7 separate regions of the Homo sapiens genome follow, and all the other regions are linked to region 6. The links are contacts of gene promoters, found by promoter capture Hi-C in blood cells and fetal thymus (Javierre and others, 2016). All regions are on one chromosome and are shown on one strand. The core of a region is centred on a gene start or on the middle of the fragment in contact, and the rest is flanking DNA. Distances in the headings are between cores, read along the strand shown. Region 1 overlaps GIMAP8 (GTPase, IMAP family member 8). Region 2 holds the start of LINC00996 (long intergenic non-protein coding RNA 996). Region 3 overlaps ACTR3C (actin related protein 3C). Region 4 holds the start of REPIN1 (replication initiator 1). Region 5 overlaps LOC107986858 (a long non-coding RNA gene). Region 6 holds the start of TMEM176B (transmembrane protein 176B). Region 7 has its middle 7.9 kb from the start of GIMAP7.

What was found. The method cuts DNA at HindIII sites, captures the fragments that hold promoters and counts their contacts. A CHiCAGO score of 5 or more calls a contact.
Region 1: a contact is called between a fragment that was not itself captured here and the fragment with the promoter of TMEM176B in region 6, in 4 of 17 cell types (monocytes, M1 macrophages, M0 macrophages and 1 more). The highest score is 7.2, in monocytes.
Region 2: a contact is called between a fragment that was not itself captured here and the fragment with the promoter of TMEM176B in region 6, in 11 of 17 cell types (non-activated CD4 T cells, naive CD4 T cells, total CD8 T cells and 8 more). The highest score is 11.4, in non-activated CD4 T cells.
Region 3: a contact is called between a fragment that was not itself captured here and the fragment with the promoter of TMEM176B in region 6, in 4 of 17 cell types (total CD4 T cells, naive CD4 T cells, fetal thymus and 1 more). The highest score is 6.4, in total CD4 T cells.
Region 4: a contact is called between the fragment with the promoter of REPIN1 here and the fragment with the promoter of TMEM176B in region 6, in 8 of 17 cell types (monocytes, total CD8 T cells, naive CD8 T cells and 5 more). The highest score is 10.4, in monocytes.
Region 5: a fragment that was not itself captured here is called in contact with the fragment with the promoter of TMEM176B in region 6 in 6 of 17 cell types (naive CD8 T cells, non-activated CD4 T cells, activated CD4 T cells and 3 more); the score reaches 7.3 in naive CD8 T cells.
Region 7: a fragment that was not itself captured here is called in contact with the fragment with the promoter of TMEM176B in region 6 in 1 of 17 cell types (monocytes); the score reaches 5.7 in monocytes.

Annotation. Positions count from the first base shown.
Region 1 is chr7:150,452,156-150,454,855 of GRCh38, reverse strand. All of the region lies in intron 1 of GIMAP8 (GTPase, IMAP family member 8), which reads right to left. Among named protein-coding and RNA genes, the nearest start is that of GIMAP8, 2.9 kb to the right of the region's middle. The HindIII fragment of the contact is 4,164 bases long and covers 1-2,700 here.
Region 2 is chr7:150,431,758-150,434,457 of GRCh38, reverse strand. LINC00996 (long intergenic non-protein coding RNA 996) reads right to left here and starts at 804. Exons shown (of 4, transcript NR_034033.1): 1 at 629-804. RefSeq lists an enhancer at 564-663. The HindIII fragment of the contact is 2,700 bases long and covers 8-2,700 here.
Region 3 is chr7:150,307,080-150,309,779 of GRCh38, reverse strand. All of the region lies in intron 1 of ACTR3C (actin related protein 3C), which reads left to right. It also overlaps a transcript of LRRC61 not described here. Among named protein-coding and RNA genes, the nearest start is that of LRRC61, 15 kb to the left of the region's middle. The HindIII fragment of the contact is 1,582 bases long and covers 553-2,134 here.
Region 4 is chr7:150,367,396-150,370,095 of GRCh38, reverse strand. It overlaps REPIN1 (replication initiator 1), which reads right to left and starts at 1,274. Exons shown (of 3, transcript NM_001099695.2): 1 at 1,155-1,274; 2 at 228-425. The coding sequence starts at 384. The region is part of intron 3 of REPIN1-AS1 (REPIN1 antisense RNA 1); the gene reads left to right. RefSeq lists enhancers at 1-90, 91-896, 897-1,701, 1,741-1,800 and silencers at 361-510, 1,021-1,490. The HindIII fragment of the contact is 10,402 bases long and covers 1-2,700 here.
Region 5 is chr7:150,348,863-150,351,562 of GRCh38, reverse strand. The region is part of intron 2 of LOC107986858 (a long non-coding RNA gene); the gene reads right to left. Among named protein-coding and RNA genes, the nearest start is that of RARRES2, 8.6 kb to the right of the region's middle. The HindIII fragment of the contact is 7,789 bases long and covers 1-2,700 here.
Region 6 is chr7:150,799,114-150,801,813 of GRCh38, reverse strand. TMEM176B (transmembrane protein 176B) reads left to right here and starts at 1,450. Exons shown (of 7, transcript NM_001101312.2): 1 at 1,450-1,516. It overlaps TMEM176A (transmembrane protein 176A), which reads right to left and starts at 1,045. Exons shown (of 7, transcript NM_018487.3): 1 at 986-1,045; 2 at 90-278. The coding sequence starts at 263. RefSeq lists enhancers at 354-1,053, 1,054-1,753, 1,754-2,453. The HindIII fragment of the contact is 5,518 bases long and covers 1-2,700 here.
Region 7 is chr7:150,505,640-150,508,339 of GRCh38, reverse strand. No RefSeq gene overlaps it. Among named protein-coding and RNA genes, the nearest start is that of GIMAP7, 7.9 kb to the left of the region's middle. The HindIII fragment of the contact is 4,149 bases long and covers 1-2,700 here.

The sequences.
Region 1 (2,700 bases), core at 98-2,597, 350 kb after region 6:
TTGACCAGTTTTAAATATGTTCTAATTTCAAGTATGATTTCTTTTTGACCCAAAAGTAAGTGATTACTAAATTTAAAAATGTATTGAGACATCTACTACCTTTTTATTTCAAATGCTGCATTGTGGCCAGAGAACAATGTCTGTATAAACTATTTGTCATTGGTTGAGATTTGCTTTTTGGCTCAGTGAAATTTTTGTAAGTGTTCCTGTAGGCTCAAAAAGAATGTGCAGCCTGTTACTGTGGTACCTTCCACAATCAAGGCCCCATCTCTCCACTGACACCTTAGCTACAGCTTCCCAGATGGTCCAGCACACCCTTGCCTGCACCCCATCCTCCTGTCTGCCTGGAACGTTCCTACCCATTCTCCATCACTTAGCCCAAGGACTCTGAGGCTCCATGTCAAGCCTTTCCTAACTTTTCCAGATTGAACTGGTCATCAGCTCCTCTTTGGACTTTTGCAGTAATATTAACACTGCTCCCCGGTTTCCACCCTTCTCCAGCTGTCTATTGTCCACCAATAGCCACAGTTCTCCTCTCCTGTTAAAACAAGAGACAGGTAATGTCACGCTTCATTCTAAACCTCCCCCCACCCCCAGTGACTCTCCACCCATTCAAAGTAAAAGGCAAAGCCTTTATAGTGGTCACGAGACCCTACCTTGTGCCCAGCTGCTCTCTGACCTCATCTCCCACCCCCTTCCCCTCACATTGTGTGCCATAGTCACATCAGCCTGCGCTGTACTTCAAACATGCTTGCTGTTCATCTGAACTGGGGCATTGTCCCTTGCAGACATGTGCAAGACATGTGCCTGAGCACTTCCCTTAGGTCTCTATCACACTGTCCCCTTAGTACAGGAGGCCCTCTCCAGCCTCCACCCGCTATTAAAGAGCTGTCCATGCCTCTGTGCCCCACTGACACCCCCACCCCATACCTAGCACCCGCCACTGCCACCCTAAGAGCTGTCCACCCCTCTATGCCCCACGGGCACCCCCGCCCCATACCCAGCACCCACCACTGCCACCCTAAGAGTCGTGACTCCTCTGTGCCCCCCGCCCCGTACCCAACACCCACTACTGTCACCCTTCACATCTGCATTTAGTTGCTTAGTGCTTTTTAGTCTGCCACCACTACAGGTGAGTTCCATGAGAATAAGGACTTGCTCTGTTTTTCTCACCACTGTATCTACAACATAAAGAAAGTATCTGATAAATACTTGTTTCTGAGTTGATGGTTATTGACTTGAAGAACAAGCAAAATGCAGCAGATACGCCGAAGAAAGTGAAGAGTGGGAAAGCCCTTTTTCTGTGCAGCAATTTGGTGGTTCATACCTTTTCAAAAAATGGGGTCTGTGGCACTCAGGGGAGAGGCTGCACTGCAGGGAATGACCCAGGGAGGTAGTAAAGGCAGTGGCAGGGCCCACTTTCGAAAAGGGCGAGGCAAAGCCCACAAGGGCCTTGGCAGAGGCCTCTCTCTGGAATCATCTGGATGGCTGCACGGCACGGGGCAGAGCCCACCGCAGCTTCAGACACCTCAGAACCTCAGAACCGGTCCACCAGGGGAAAAATATTTCCGGTGGGTTCAAACCTAATCAGCACCGGGGATCTTCTAAGAGCATCTTTCACCCAGATACACCCTATGGAGAGAAGCTCTCACACTAATGCCCTATCTCCTCTCTCTCCTCAATTTTCTTCATAACATTGATTCTATCTGATATTATTTATATTTTATAATTATTTATTAATTTTATTTTTAAATGTCTAAATGTTCTCTGTACTACCCTTGGTACAAAGCTCCATAACAGCATGTGCTGAAACTCCAAACATGCCTGTTTTGTTCTGTGTCCCCAGGCCCTAACATTGTGCCTGGCATGTAGTATATGCCCAATACGTGGAGGTAAAGGAATGAACGATCACAGGAGAGACAGAAATGTGAAGAAAAGAAGAAAAACGGTTTTTAGAACTGAGAGGGAGGCCGGGCGCAGTGGCTCACGCCTGTAACCCCAACACTTTCAGAGGCCAAGGCAGGTAGATCCCTCGAGATCAGGAGTTTGAGACCAGCCTGGTCAACATGATGAAATCCCCGTCTTTATTAAAAGTACAAAAATTAGCCAGGCATGGTGGTGGGTGCCTGTAGTTCCACTCGCATGTATATATATATATATATATATATATATATATATATCTCACACACACACACACACACATATACACACATATATATACATATATACACATATATACATATATACATACATATATACATATATATACATATATACATACACACACACATATATATGCAAGTGAAGTGAGATGTCTCTGTAAATTAATTTAAGAAAAAAAGACACTAGTGAGAAAACAGCAAGCTGAAGGAAGCAGAGGCCTCCCACAGGTCTGAAGAAGAAAGAAATTTCTTTCCCAATTAAGCGACACAGCCTTGCATGGTTCCCCAGCAGAGTATGACCAAACCAATGAGTCTTGGCTGGACTCCTGCCTGCAGCTCCACATGATGTCAGGACCTACACACACACACCCACATACACACACGCACATGCACACTCCTACCACACATACAGCTTCCCAGCCAGTAGCACTTCACCCCAACATGTAGAAAGTGCACTTAAGGACAAAAAGGTACCCAAACTCACCCTCACTCACGCTCTGCCAGCCCACATTTCCCTCTGCTCAATTTCCCAGGCCAC
Region 2 (2,700 bases), core at 108-2,607, 370 kb after region 6:
AAAAGCTTCCCCTTGCCTCAGCCTCCTGGATGCGCCCATGGCTGCTGTGGCACGGGCACTCCGCATCACAATCATGCTGCTCATTTCCAAATAAATTCATCATCTTTGGAGAATCGCTTCTGTTTGTTATTTAGGTTGATAATTCTTCAAAAAAAAAAGTCTATGACTTCAGTGACAAAGAGGGAAGCTGGGAGGTCGGGAGGAAGGTGTGTTAGGAAGAATGTGTCTGACTCTGTGGTTAGTTGGGGTGGGGACCCTTCAGCCTCCTGAGTAGGAGCGGCAGGCCTGGGAACAGGGGAGTCTCCTTCCTAGGTCCTATTGCCTAGGCCCACATGATGCCTACCTGAGGCATATGCACAAAGAAAAAGTCCTTAAAATTTTGTTTTTCTCTAGAACAACCTACAGTCCTAGGGACAGACACACCATCCTCCTAAGTCCTATCACACCCTGGAAAATTGTAACAAAAAGGTGACAGTCTCCTTGGGGCATTGCCTGCAGCCTTAGCTAGGGGCCATCCTAGTTATCTCAATTACTCATCCAATTTGTGATCAGCCCTAAGTTCTGGCTCACTCTAGCTCTCTCCTTCGACTTCCTCATCTCCCAAATGGAAGTGACTACCCCGACCTACCAGGCTGTTGTGGGAACCGAACGATGTGGCAGAGAGTCCAGCTCAGCTTCCTACCGTTCCACGAGGGCCACTGAAAGGCCAGTCCTCTTCAGCCTGCAATGAGAGAGATTGAAAGTGGAAGCAGGTCTAAGCTCACAGAATCAGGAAGAAGGTAGAATGCTGAATACACTTCTTCCTCCAATCCCAAATGCTAGAACTGTGTTTCTATCGAAGTTTTGTCATCGACTTTTTAGAATCAGAAAAATGATTAAGAAACATGAGCTGAGATATGCAGGTTCCTTGAGCAAATAGGATTTTGTACAGCAGACACCTCCTGGTGTCTCATTTCCTGAGATCCCCAAAGTGAGAGATAAGAAAGCTGTGGCCGCAGCAGAGACTTGAAACAGTGACCAGAGACCAACTCTTCCACAGGAAGGTGTCTGCACAGAAGACTCACAGGGGCAGCTGACAAAGATCTGTCTATAGCCTGGTCCACAATAAAGATCAGGGGTTGGACAGGGTGAGACACCCAACACGGTGGCTGGAGCCACCCCCTGTAACTATCAACAAACTTGCAGCCCAAGGTCGAGCACAAATAAGTGGGCACAGAAAGACACTTCAGGACACGAGCTACAGAGAGGCAGCCACCTGGCCATCCTCCAGCTGCCTGAGGTTTGCAGATGCCCTTGATGCCACCCCCTATCCCTCCCAAGCACTCTCCTCTCCGTGCACACAGATGCTTAACAAGAGCACCTATGACTCTCCACAGACCAGAGCACCAGGGACACAGTGCCCCTGGGAGATGCTGCCACCAAGGCCAGATGGAAAGAACACCCCTGTGTTCTTGCTCCATGGTTGGCATCTGAGACGTACCTGCCAGGGTTCCCCAGCAGGATCAAGCTCAGTGGCCCAAAGTGGAAATGAACTTACCAGTCATCCTCCAGTGGCCTCCTCTCTTTCTCACTTTCCCACTCCCCCACCAGGGTTTCTCGGGATCCACTCTCAAATAAACTACTTGCCCTTGAATCCTTAATTCAGGGGGAGTCAAAACAAAGACGACCAATCAGAGACAAATATTAACCATAATGATGTCTATTACTCAGATAGGATTGAAATCAACTCAGAAGGGCAGGAATGTGTGAAATCTTCTCCCTTTCCCTTCTCTGCTGAGTAATTGACTCTCATGCCCTAGAGCCTTCTCTACCCCTCTGTAAGCACGTGGATTCAAAACTGAATGTCCAAGTTCAAACCCAACTCCCCACAACCCAACGTTCCCAAGTCATCTAGGGAAATTTGCTTCACCTCTTCAAGTCTCCATTTCTCCAATGTTAAGACAGGAGAGTCTCAGACAGTTCACAGCGACCAACCCACCCCTACTCGGCCACCACCCACATAACATCTTACTGGGAGATTTCTCCCATTGAGTTCAAGTTCATAGCTGGAGAATATGGAAACTGCACACTCACCATGGAAGATAACACCAAGAAGTCTTTGTCTTTCCTGTCTTCTGCTTTCATCATCTGCCCCCTCCCACCAGACTGTGTTTCTCCATGACACCCTGTAGTTTGGCCACAGCCAAGCGGATCTGAAGACCATTGCCTCCAGAAGTTGGCATGACGATTCTAAGTTCTCCAGGTGGGAGAAGGAGGGGGATTTACTTATGTTTTTAAATGTTCTAGGACTTGTGTGTCCTGTTGAACTCCAAGATCTGTGGAAAAGGGAGTCACAAGAAAGACAAAATTCTCATAGTCCAGCTTCACAGGCACAGAAGGGCCTCAGCACCACCATGGAGCAGGCCCAGACACAGGGCTGAAGTGGGAGCTGGAGTCTCCCCAGCACCTAAGCAAAGCCTCTCTTCCCCACAGCTCAAGGTTCCAACAGCCCCTCCTTCTCACTCCTTTTCCCCCTTCAAGTCTTCCAAGTATGCACTCCAGACTGGTGTTGGTATTGAGTGTGGGCCGATGAAGGGAGAGTGGGGTGACAGAGTTGGTCTGTCCCTTTTCAATAACTGCCAAGAGGACTGTTGATGTTCTCTCTAGAATGTGAGGTACTTGACTGTCCTCGACTTTGAATAGAATATTCAAAGTGGGAAT
Region 3 (2,700 bases), core at 94-2,593, 490 kb after region 6:
AGCTTTGATCCAGAGCTCCAGGGGCCCTAGAAGTGGCTGTGATATTAGTTGGACAGTCCGATTTCCAGTGGGGTCCCGCACAGGTGGGACACGGCTTAGGAAGAATCCTGGGCTGTGGGCATTTCTTGGTCTAGTGGCCAGTTTTGCGGCACTTGAATCAAGGTCCATGAGGAGGATTTAAAGGAGTAGCTGGAGGCTGTGGTTTGGTTGTTCTGAAGTTTTTGTGTGCTGAAGGCATGGCTGGGGTTTGTCTTACAGCAGGCGCAAGCAGTTGCAGCTCTGAAATGCGTTGCCGCTTGGCTGCCTCTTTATTGTTGAACACCTTGAAGGCGAGGTTGATTAATTCCTGTTGTGGGGTTTGAGGGCCAGATTCCAATTTTTGAAGCTTTTTTCTAATGTCAGGAGCTGACTGGGTGATAAAACACATATTGAGAATAAGATGGCCTTCTGGCCCTCGAGGGTCTAGGGCTGTAAAGCGTCTAAGGGTAGCCACCAAGCGGGCCAAGAACTGGGCTGGGTTTTCATCTTTACCTTGAGTGGCTTCTTTAAGCTTGTCATAACTAACAGCTTTGTATGCTGCCTTTTTTAGCCCTTCAACTAGGCAAGAGACCATGTAATCTCACCTAGCTATACCTGGGAAGCCTGTCTGGTATTCCCTTTGGGGATCATCTCGGGGAACTGCCCTGATGCCTTCTTGGAGGTCTGGCTCACGATGCAAGCAGGTGTCAGTGTGAGAATGGGCTAGGGTATAAACTCTTTCCCGCTCATCTGGGGAGACGGGAGAGGTCAGGATGACATTTAAATCACTCCAGGTTAAATTGTAGGACTGAGTCAAATATTGGAATTCTTGTATATATTTAGTGGGGTCTGATGAGAAAGAGCCCAGATGCTGACTGATTTGGAAAAGGTCTGATAGAGAAAAAGGTACATGAACCCTTACTGTGCCCTCAGCTCCAGCCACCTCTCTAAGAGGAAACTGTTGGGCAGGTGGGAGGAGAGCTAGTCATGGAATGAAACTGTAAGCCAGACTGAGTGTGAGGAGGGGAGGTGATAGAAGAATTATAAGGTGGGGGAGCAGAGGCTGAGGAGGAATTGGGACTTGATTCAGCCTGTCAAGGAGTGGCCTGGGGAGGGGGAGAGAGGTCAGAGGGGTCTGCAGAAAAGGAGGATTCAGAAGACTCTGAGGTTGGGGTAGAGACTGAAGAAGCGGACAGGAGAGAAAGAAGAAGGATTTGGGATGAGCTGCATTGGGAGCAGAGGCTAGGGAGGGAACGAAGTATAAAAAATGCCTGGACGTAAGGCACCTCAGACCATTTGCCCATTTTTCGACAAAATTTATCTAGGTCTTGTGGGATGGAGAAATCGAAAGTGCCGTTTTCTGGCCACTTGGAACCATTGTCGAGCTTGTATTGGGGCCAAGCGGAGTTGCAGAAGAAAATAAGACTCTTAGGTTTTAGGTCAGGTGAGAGTTTAAGAGGTTTTAAGTTTTTAAGAACACAGGCTAAGGCGGAAGAAGGAGGAATGGAGGGTGGAAGGTTGCCCATAGGAAAAAGGTAAGTTCCAAGAAAAGAGGGGGTAGAGACTCGAAGAGAGGGGGGTGGTACTTGCCACCCAGGGGAGGTTGTACTTGCCACCAAGGTGGAGGATCAAAGCAGGTGTCCCCGCAGTGATTAAACACTTCTGGAATGCGGGTGAATAATCAGGCAGGCGTCCCCGCAGTGATTAGACACCAAGGAAAGACTGTCTTCCCGAGTCTGTGACCAGCTCCAGAGTTTGGAGTCCACAGATAAAACGTGTCTTCTCTGTCTCTACCAGAAAGCAAAAGGAAATGAAGGGAAGGGAGAGATTGAAGGGTGACGTGGAAATTGAAAGGAGAAAGAGGTTGAGGGATAGCGACAGAGGTTAGAGAAGAGAATAAAAAGAGGCCACTTACCCAATTTAAAATTGGTGAGGTGTTTTGTTTGGGCTGGTCTGAGGACCTGAGGTTGTAAGTGGATTTTCTCATGGAGCAAAGAGCAGGAGGACAGGCGATTGATCTCTGGAGGGAGGTCCCCCGAACCAAGTCATGGCACCAAATGTCAAGCGCCTCTGTGTGAAGAGACCACCTAACAGGCTTTGTGTGAGCAATAAAGCTTTTTAATCACCTGGGTGCAGGCGGACTGAGTCTGAAAAAGGCGTCGAAGGGAGATGGGGAAGGGGTTGCTTTATAGGAGTTGGGTAGGTAATGAAAAATTACAGTAAAAGGTGGTTATTTATTGTTAGCAGAGGAGGGGGTCACAAGGTACATGGTGGGGAGATCATAAGTCTTATTGTCCAGAAGAAGAATTTCACAAGGTCGACTGATCAGTTAAGGTAGGGCAGGGACAAGTCACAATGGTGGCATGTAATGTTGGTTAATCAGTTAAGGCAGGAACTGGCTGTTTTACTTCTTTTGTGGTTTTTTGGCTGCACCAGACTTCTTGGCTCCTGCAGGCCATCTGGATGTACATGTGCAGGTCACAGAGGTTACAATGGGTGAGCTTCGGCTCAGAGGCCTGACATGAACCAAATCAATGTACATCTTACATGTATTTGATTGATATTTCCTATCTCCCTAAAATGTATAAAACTAGGCTGTGCCCCACCCACATGATCTCAGGGTCTCCTGACGACTGTGTCATGGGCCATGGTCACTCATACTTGGCTCAGAATAAATCTTTT
Region 4 (2,700 bases), core at 25-2,524, 430 kb after region 6:
AAGGGCCCTTCTGTGCCTGCTCACAAGCTCCAGACACATCCTTCTAAATTCCCTAGAGCGCACTCTCTCTTCTCAGGGAACACAAAGGTCACTCATTCCCAGTGTCAGACTGTGCACAGGGAAGACCCCAGGATATGAGAAAGGGCCATTTCCTTCCGCCGGGATGGGGACGCCCGTGCACCCCTGTTGTGGCGTGGTTTGGGAGCACAGCAAAGGCCAGACTCTACCCTGGAGACTGCAGAGCTGGGGATGAGGCTTTTTCCAGCTCCTCTTGGGGATGTTCCTGGGGATACTTCCGCGGCTGCAGCGCCTGCTTCGGCCCACACTCCGGTAGCCCCCAGGTGTTAGAGAAAACTGCAGTAATAAAGACACCCCTATCCCCATGGCAGAGCTCAGACCTCTGACTGCAGAGAGGCCAGCCTTACCTGTGGGGAGGGAAGAGAAAACAGAAGTGAGGCTCTGAGCTCCTCTAGGGCAGTCAGCTTTGTGTCCTCACCAGCCACAACCCCTCCCCCCACAAAGCCACACGCACCAGCCATAAGCCCCACATCCTGCCTGGCAGAGTGACCTTAATGGACATTGGATTAATAAATGAATGTGCCCCTTCAACAAGGAAGCACACTGCTGTCTTTCGGGGTCACTTTCTTCCCTGGTAAGGTCACGGAACGAATTCTCCATTCTGTGGCCAGAGTCTGGGCTTTCCCTGATGGCCAAAGGCCGGCCTATGGCAGGAACTCTGGAATCCCTGCTGGCTCCCCTTCCCCCAGCCTCCTCCCGACAGGAATTCCAGGCCTATTTCCCATGGGGCTGCGCAGGGCCAGCTGGTGTGACCACGACTCCGTCAGAATCCCCTTCCGCATCGCGGCTGGCCGCGGGTGGCAGAAGCCCCACACCGCCCTTTTGTACTGATGCGTGTCCTCCGTCCACGCTCCCGGGCACACGGGTCCCGTTCTTGCGAGTGAGCCATTTCGGGTCCCACGCACGGCGCAGCTCGCGGAGCCTGTGCGCAGGTGCGCTCCCCCACCCCCGCAGATCCAGCAGCGTCCCCCCCCGCGCACTCACACACGGTCGCGCACACTCACGGTCACGCGCCCCGCAGGTGGAGCGGCCCCCCGCGGGCCCGCGGTGGCCCCGCGCCCCTGCCCCGGCCGTACCTCTGCGGCGGGCTGTGCAGGGACGCGGCGCCCGTCCATGGAGCCCGAAGGCCGGCCTCCGCGGCCCACTCTCGCTCCCCGCCCCGCCGCGGCGACAGCGGCAGGTTCGAGTTCACAACTGCCAGGCCCGTCCCCAACCTCCCCCCGCCGGGTTCCCAGCGCCACGTGACTACAGGAGCTGCCGAGGGTCAGTCGCCGGCTCCCGCGGCCGCGGCCTGGGGGCGGGGAGGGACTGCCGGGGCCGGGGCGCGGGCGCCCCCGCCAAGAGCGGGCCGGGTCACTCAAGCCACTGCCGCGCCAGGGCGGCAGGCCTCGGAGGGTCGGACTCCGTTGCCATGGCGACCACCAGCCCGGGTTTCTCTGGGACTGGCCGGAGCTCAAGTTTCCCGACCCTTTGTCCCTGCGGAGCACGCGCGTCCCCGGGCGACCGCGTGGCTGGCCTATGGTCACCGGGGTGTTCGGCCTTAGCTGCCTTATGAGAGGCTGGGAGCCCGTCGGGAGACTTCAAAGAGGGCTCCGGCAAGCCCCCGGAGCGTCGTTGCCCGGGCCTTTCTCAGGCCGCGCACCCCGGCCGCAGTGCGGACGCTTGCGGCCGCGGCGGTCCCGGGACGGCGGTGGCGCACCTGGAAGGCCCTAGCTTCCGATTTGTTCCAAAGTGGAGCACAAAAAGGCCCGATCCTGCGAACTTTGAAAAGGCCTCTCTTCACTCTTTTCTAGAAATTAAGAAAGAGCAGAAGTTGCTGGGCTTCCTCTGGCTGCGGGCCAAGCGTGGGGCGACGGCCGAGGTGGCCGTTGGCGCACGTGGGGCATTTCGCTTGGAAAGGCTCAGCAGCCTGTGTGGCGTCTGCGGTGGCAGGTGCGAGCCTGTGCCCATGACTCACCCACTAGCAGGTGGCCCTGGCTTTCCAAACTAAACACTTCCTGGGGTTTCCAGGGTAGTACAATTTCATGTACTTTCATGCTTTTCAACACAGGCAATTTTTGAATTGTATAATTAGTCGTAAAAATACTTTTTAAATCTATTGCATAAATAGGAAATAGGGGAACATAAAACTCAGTTTTACCTCGTAGAGTCAATTACATTTAATATTTTGGTATGTTGCCTCCGGTGTTTTCTCTACGTATATCCATGGCATGTCTGGCATAATTGGAATAATGCCTTGCGAAGATGTATTCTGCCTTCTTCACTTAACACGATCTTGTGAATTTTCTTCCATTTTATTAGATATTCTTTTAAACATGATTATTTATGGCTGTATAAAAGGAATATATTTTTTAAATGTTTTCTAAATTATCTTCCAGGAAAACGTATTAGTTTTCCCTGAGAAATGCCCATTTTCCATATACTTGACAACACAGACTTTTTTAAAAAAAAAATTTAGTTTGAAATGGTTATTTCTCATCTTTTGTACTTGCATTTCTTAGAGTACTAGTTAGCTGGATTGTTTTTTCACATGGTTATTTTTTGCCAGTTTTATTTTCTCTTGTGAATTTGTTTATGTCCATTTGCCCACTTTTCTATTTGCCCATTTTAAAAGTTGGGGAG
Region 5 (2,700 bases), core at 140-2,639, 450 kb after region 6:
TTGTCATCTGGTACATTTAATTTCATTCATCTGGAATTTATTATAGTGTAAAAAGTGAGGCAGGAACCAACATTCATCATTTTCCTCCACAAGGCTAGCCGTATATTCCAACACCGTTTATTGGCTAATGCATCTTTTTCCTAAAGATTTGAAATGCCACCTTTATCACATATTAAATTCCCATATGTATTTGGATTTATGTCTGAGGTTTCTATTCTGTTCCATTTTTTTGTCTATTCATTTGCTAATGTCACTGTTTTCATTTTAGATTATTAATGCATTTTAACATCAAATAGGCTATCTGGACATCTAAGAGGTCAACATTATTTTTATCTTCATACTTCTGTTTATTCTTGCTTGTTTATTTTTCCATATACATGTTAGAATCAATTGTCTTTCCTTGTTAAATTTAAATATTAGTTTAGGAATGATTTACATTTTTATTTATTTTATTTTTTCCTTTTCAGACAGAGTTTCACTCTTGTTGCCCAGACCGGAGTGCAATGGCGTGATCTCAGCTGATCGCAATCTCCACCTTCCAGGTTCAAGCAATTCTCCTGTCTCAGCCTCCCAAATAGCTGGGATTACAGGTATGGGCCACCACACCCGGCTAATTTTGTACTTTTAGTAGAGACAGGGTTTCTCCATGTTGGTCAGGCTGGTCTCCAACTTCCCATCTCAGGCGATCCACTTTTCTTGTTAAATGTATATATTAGTTTAGGAATGATTTACATTTTTATGATTTTTTTTTTTTTTTTTTTTTTTTGCCTTTTGAGACAGAGTTTCAGCCTTGTTGCCCAGACTGGAGTGCAATGGCATGATCTCAGCTCACTGCAACCTGCGCCTGCCAGGTTCAAGCAATTCTCCTGTCTCAGCCTCCCAAAGTGCTGGGATTACAGGTATGAGCCACTGCACCTGGCCACATTTTATGATTTGATTCTATCTATTTAGTCAAGGTTTCTTTCATATACCTTAATATTATGTTAAGTTTTTAAATATTCTTTTTGTTGTTGTTAGTTTTTTTAAATAGTCTTTGTATTTTTTTACTAAGTTCATTCCTAAGAACTTAACCTTTTTTTATTATTGTAAATGGGGTTTTAAAAAACTATATTTTCAGCCAGGCACAGTGGCTCACGCCTGCAACCCCAACACTTTGGGAGGCCAGGGAAGGCAGATCATTTGAGCCCAGGAGTTTGAGACCAGCTTGGGCAACATGGTGAAACTTCATCACTGCACAAAATACAAAAAAAAAAAAAAAATTAGTTGGGCGTGGTGGTGCACACCTGTAGTCCCAGCTATCCGGGAGGCTGAGGTGGGAGGATCACCTGAGCCTGGGAGGTTGAGGCTGCAGTGAGCCATGAACACATCTCACTGCATTCCTGCCTGGGCAACAGAGTGAGACCTTGTCTCAAATATATATATATATATATATATATATATATACATATATTTTTTTTCCAAATATATTCATGTTAGAAAACCTACTGATTTTGTATATTAATCCCATTTCCTATCACTTATTATTTTATTGTTTCCAGTAATTTATTCCTGTTAGTTCTCTTGGATTTGGAAGGTACACAGTCCTACCATTTGCAAATAAGGATACTTTTCTCACTATTTTTCTTTTTTTTTTTTTTTGAGACGGAGTCTTGCTCTGTCTCCCAGGCTGGAGTGCAACGGCACGATCTTGGCTCACTGCAAGCTCCGCCCCCTGGGTTCACGCCATTCTCCTGCCTCATCCTCCCAAGTAGCTGGGACTACAGGCACCCGCCACCACGCCCAGCTAATTTTTTGTATTTTTAGTAGAGACGGGGTTTCACCATGTTAGCCAGGATGGTCTCGATCTCCTGACCTCATGATCCACCCGCCTCGGCCTCCCAAAGTGCTGGGATTCCAGGCGTGAGACACCGCGCCCGGCCTTTTTCTCACCATTTTTCAAAAGAAATTTTTAATCATTGATTTTTCATGTCTGCCCAATTACACTGGCTAGTGTTTCTTAAAAAATGTAAAATGATAATAGCAATAGAAGACATCCTTTTCTTGATCCTGAATTTGATGAGAATGTTTATTTTTCATCATTAAGTATGTTATACATACATATAATCATGTTAAGAAGGTACTCATAATCTATCTTATCAAGAGCTTTTATTTTTTAATTAGCAGAGGATATTAAATTTTCTCAAAGGTTTTTTCAGCATCTTTGGCAATTATTACATGGGGTTTTCTCTCCTTGACTGATTAATGTGATATATTAATGGATTTCCTGAATTTCCTCTTTTCTAATTTACATTTTTAGTTTTATTTGTTCTTTCCTTTTCCTTACCATAAGTTTCATTGGTGGTTTTACTAGTTAACAATTAGCTTACTTTCATTTTGTCTTTCATTAGTAAAAAGAAAGGTATTTAATTGTACTTCTCAAAATACAGCTCATGGGTTCTAATATATAGTGTTTTCATTAATTTTCTTTGTTTGTTTGTTTATTTGTTTGAGACAGAGTTTCACTCTGTCCCCCAGGCTGGAGTGCAGTGGTGTGATCTCAGCTCACTGCAACCTCCGCCTTCCAGGTTCAAGTGATTCTTCTGCCTCAGCCTCCCAAGTAGCTGAGATTACAGGTGCCCACCACCATGCCTGGCTACATTATTGTTATTTTTAACAATTCTGCAACATGTTTTATTTCTTGTTTATGATCATGTTTATTTC
Region 6 (2,700 bases), core at 201-2,700:
TGTTCAGAGGGAGGCTGGCAGAGAGTGCTGCTGCGGCTGGAGGTGGGGAGTTCCTCCCGCCGCCCGACGAGGCAGGCCGTCACACTCACCCACGAGGCCACCAGCAGCCGGCTGCTGCCCCTGGCCTGGGTGGCCCGGGGCCGCAGCGCAGAGCAGCAGGTGAGCAGGAGCTTGGCCAGGGCAGACTCCTGGTGGATGTGCACATCGATGTGGGTGTGCTGTGGGGCCTCCGGGGCCATCTCATCACTGTCGGCTGTTCCCATTGTCAGGGACACAGTCTATGAGGAAGGGAGCACCAGAGAGGAACGGCTGTCAGAAGATTTTCGCAGATTTCATTGGAGTTGGGGAGGTCAGGGGCCAGTGGTGGCTCAAAGTCACCCAATGAATGGCTGTCCTGGTCACAGGGCCGCACCCCTGGCCCCTCACGAGGGGAATGTGTGTAGCAGAGGGGGTGCTGACCATGCTGGAACTGCGGCGACTACAGAGCCTGCGGGAACCTCCCCTTTCGCCCAAGATCTGCTCTGTCCCCCTCATCCTCCTCCCAGGGCCCTGGCGTCTGGGTCAAGCAGCGCCCCACACCTCGACCCCTCACCCCCTCCTCCCGGGCTCTTCCTGCGGCCTCCCCTCCACAGTCCGCAGGCTCTGGGACAGGACCGAGTCCTTGGCTGCCTGTGGAGCTCCTGTGCCAGCAGCTGCGCCCCGGCTGCGCTCCGGATACCCCCATCCCCGCCACCGCCGACCTCCCGCTCCACCGACTGCTGCTCACGCCCGACGGGTTCACGCCGCCCCTGCCCCGTGAAGGACCGCGCTGCGGTGCGGAGGTAGGTCAAAAGCCGGGGCCGCACCTGGCTTCCTCTGCAGTCCCCTTCCTGGAGTGTCATCCCTGGGTGGGGGTCCCTCCTACGCTCCTCCAACTGTGCGGAGGCAGCTCGGGGTGCGTGCGGAAGGAGGCCCGGGGGCCGCCGGGAGTGGGGTGCCGCCTCACCTGCGCTCCTCGGGACCTGCGAGCGGGCGGCGGGAGGGCTGGGGCGCTGGCTGGAGAAGTGGGTTGAGAGTTGGAGGGGGAGGCGGGGAGGGGAGGCGGGGGTGGGGCTGAACTTCAGCCCCTCGGGTTCATGACAGGCTGCAGGGCCTGGGGTCCGTCTGGGGTTCTCCTGCTGCGCGAGGGTCACTGGGCTCTGGGGAGCTGGGAGGGTCCGCGGGCGGACGGCCCTGGGAAAGCCCGTGGGGTCGTTCTCGCCTCCAGCCCCGCCCGGCCAGGGCCGGCGTGCAAGTGTGCGCGAGTGGGAGCGCAGGGGGCGCGCGGGGGCTCGGTCTTCTCCCGCCCGGTCCGCTCCTCCGGGCGGAACCCCCTTTGCCGGGCCCCCGGGCCGCAGCTGGTTTCGGGAAACCGCGCAGCCTGGGCGGGGCCGCAGCCCCCACCCGTGCATCTGCCGTCTCCGCCCTCCCGTCGCTCCCCTGCTCGGGGTCAGCTAGTGTCCGCTCTGCTCGGCCGCGGGCTCCCGGAGGACTGCAGGTGAGGCAGGGCCTCCGCGGCCCGGGAGACCCTCTTGCCGCAGGACCCTCTGTCACGAGGAGTCCCCAGGGCCATGCCCCCACCCCGTCCTGTCCACAGGACGTCTTTCTTCCTCCAACCTGGTTTCCAGGAGGACTCACGTAGGAGGGAGGGACAGCTGGGTGCAGGTGTTTCTCCCCAGAAAAACGGCTGGAGAGCGGGAGGAGAGGCCTGGGGCTGGCGCGTCCCGTCCACCTTCTGCCGCCTGCACGCCTGGACCCTGGCTGGAGCCCTACGGTGGGGTGGCTCCTGGGACGGGGCCAGGGAGCGGCGGGGCTGCCGGACGCTTTCCCCAGCCCCGGGGCACGGGAAGAGCTGGACAGAGGAAAGTGTTCGGGGCAGCCGGGAAGAGCCCACCACCTACCAGGCGTCGGGCGGCCCGCAGGGGAATCTCCGTGGTGCCGGCCTGGTTCAGATCCGACTCTTCAGGCGGGGGCGAGGCAGATCTAGGGGTTGGCGTGGGGCGGGGGAAGCGGTGGTCCTGGGGGCCCGGAGGTAGCTGGAACCCGAGGTGCCCTCAGGGCGAGGCCTGGGCCGTCAAGGGAAGGTCTGGCTGGAATCTGGGGCTGGGCTGGAAGCAGTCTGAAGCTCCTTTGTACGTGTGCGGAATTGTCTAACTCCTGTCCTTTCTAACCCCAAGGAGGCCAGGTGGGTGAAAGAGTGAAACTGCTTTGAAAAGTAGGTAGAGTACGAATGGGAGGTGTTATTAGAATTGTTAATAATATTTGATTTAAACTGTGATACTTAGCCAGGATGTCCATTAGAATTGCCTATGCAGGATTTATTTTAGAGCCAGGCAAGCTGATTCTAAAGTGCATGTGAAGAAGTAGTCTAGCAAAAATGGCCATGACAATTCTGAAAGAAAAACCACACGAGGGGATCATGAAACAGCCCAATTAGCATTAAGCTCCATGTTAAAATTGTGGTAATGATGCCTAGCCCATGAGACATGCCAATGGGCAGAATATAAGGACTAGAATAGGCCTACATTCCTAGGGGAACTTCATTTCTGCTCAGGAGAGAATTTTAAATCACTGAGAAAAAGAGGATGTATTTTCCGCAAATGGAACGTATCTTTCAGAAGTTAAACATCTGAATGACAGCAACAGAACTTGGATCCGTGTCTCCCAACGGCGAAGGTTGGT
Region 7 (2,700 bases), core at 62-2,561, 290 kb after region 6:
AGCCCGCCAACTCTGTCTCTCCCTTTAGGGCCTTCAGTTCTATTTATGTATCTGGACACCTATGATGTGAAATTGTATAATACGTGAGCTTAAGGAGACCAAACCACGATCCTGGGACTGACATCAAGAGTATTACCATTACCATTACTATTGCTGACACCACTGCTACTAGCTGACACTTGCTGATCACTTACTGTATGCTGAGTACCCTTCTCACCCCTTTATAGATACTACAGGCACACCTCAGAGATATTGCAAGTTCAATGCCAGCAACTGCAATAAAGCAAATGTAACTATAAAAAGAGCCACATGAATTTTTTGGTTTCTCAGGGCATATAAAAGTTATGTTTATACTACACCGTAATCTATTACATGTGCAATAGCATTATGTCTAGAAAACAATATATGCGCTTTAATTTAAAAATACTTTATTGCTAAAAGATGCTAACAATCCTCCGAGCCTTCAGTGAGTCATAATCTTTCTGCTGGTGGAGGGTCTTGCCTCAGTATTGATAGCTGCTGATTGATCAAGATGGTGATTGCTGAAGGCTGGGGTGGCTGTAGCAATTTCCTAAACTAAGATAACAATGAGGTTTGTCACATAGAATGACTCTTCCTCTCACAAAATGTTTCTCTGTAGCATGTGTGATGCTGTTTGATCGCATTTTAAGCATAGTAGAACTTGTTTCAAAATTGAAGTCAATCTTCTCAAACCCTGCTGCTGTTTATCAAGTTTATTTAATATTCTAAATCCTTTGTTGTCATTTCATAATGTTCACAGCATCTTCGCCAAAAGTAGTTTTTTTTTTTTTGAGATGAAGAAGGAGATTTTATTTATTTTTTATTTCAATAGGTTTTGGGGGGTTGGGTAGTGTTTGGTTACAGGGATAGGTTCTGTAGTGGTGATTTCTGAGATTTTGGTGCCATCACCTGAGCAGTGTACACTGTGCCCAGTGTGTAGGCTTTTATTCTTCACCTCCCTCCCACCCTTTCCCCAAGTCCCCAAAGTCCATTGTATCATTCTTATGCCTTTTCATTCTCATAGTGTCATTTCCATCTCAAGAAATCAGTTTCTTTTCTCATCCATAAGAAGCAGCTCCTCATCCATTCAAGTTTTATCATGAGATTGCAGCAATTCAGTCACATCTTCAGCCTACATTCTTCTTTTGTTGTTGTTAGAGACAGGGTCTCACTCTGTCACCCAGGCTTGAGTACAGTAGTGTGATCATAGCTCACTGCAGCCTTGAGCTCCTGGGCTCAAGTGATGCTCACACCTCAGCCTCCCAAGCAGCTGGGACTACAGGCACACACCACCATGTCTTACTAATTATTTTTTTTTTTGTTGAGACAGGATCTCACTGTGTTGCCCAGTGTGGTCTCAAACTCCTAGTTTCAAGTGATCCTCCTGCCTTGGCCTCCCAAAGTGCTAGGATTACAGGCATGAACCAACACACCTGGCCTCCACTTCTAATTCTACTTCTCTTGCTACCTCCACCACATCTGTAGTGATTCCCTCCAATGAAGTCTCGAACCCCTCCAAGTCATCTATGAGGGTTGGAATCAACTTCTTCCAAACTGTTGTTAACATTAATATTTTTATCTCCTCTCATGAATCATGAATGTTGTTAATGGTATCTAGAATGGTGAATCCTTCCCAGAAAGTTTTCAATTTACTTTGCCCAGGTTTATCAGAAGAATCACTATTTATGGCAACTATAGCCTTATAAAATATATTTCTTAAATAATAAGGCTCAAAAGTCAAAATTATCCTTGATCCATGAGCTGCAGAAGGGATGTTGTATTAGCAGGCATGAAATCTCCTTGTATATCTCCATAAGAGATCTTGGGTGACCAAATGCTTTGTCAATGAGCAGTAATATTTTGAATCTTTTTTTCTAAACAGAAGTATCAACAGTGGGCTTAAAATATTCAGTAAGCGGTGGGGGGGTCAGCCCCCCGCCCGGCCCGCCGCCCCGTCCGGGAGGGAGGTGGGGGGGTCAGCCCCCCGCCCGGCCAGCCGCCCCGTCCGGGAGGTGAGGGGCACCTCTGCCCGGCCACCCCTACTGGGAAGTGAGGAGCCCTTCTGCCCGGCCACCACCCCGTCTGGGGTGTACCCAACAGCTCATTGAGAACAGGCCATGATAACAATGGCGGTTTTGTGGAATAGAAAAGGGGGAAAGGTGGGGAAAAGATTGAGAAATCGGATGGTTGCTGTGTCTGTGTAGAAAGAGGTAGACATGGGAGACTTTTCATTTTGTTCTGTACTAAGAAAAATTCTTCTGCCTTGGGATCCTGTTGATCTATGACCTTACCCCCAACCCTGTGCTCTCTGAAACATGTGCTGTGTCCACTCAGGGTTAAATGGATTAAGGGCGGTGCCAGATGTGGTTTGTTAAACAGATGCTTGAAGGCAGCAGGCTCCTTAAGAGTCATCACCACTCCCTAATCTCAAGTACCCAGGGACACAAACACTGCGGAAGGCCGCAGGGTCCTCTGCTTAGGAAAACCAGAGACCTTTGTTCACTTGTTTATCTGCTGACCTTCCCTCCACTATTGTCCTATGACCCTGCCAAATCCCCCTCTGCGAGAAACACCCAAGAATGATCAATAAAAAAAGAAAAAAAAAAAAAAAATTCAGTAAGCCGTGCTATAAACAGATATGCTGTCATCAGGCTTTGTTGTTCCATTTATAGAGCACAG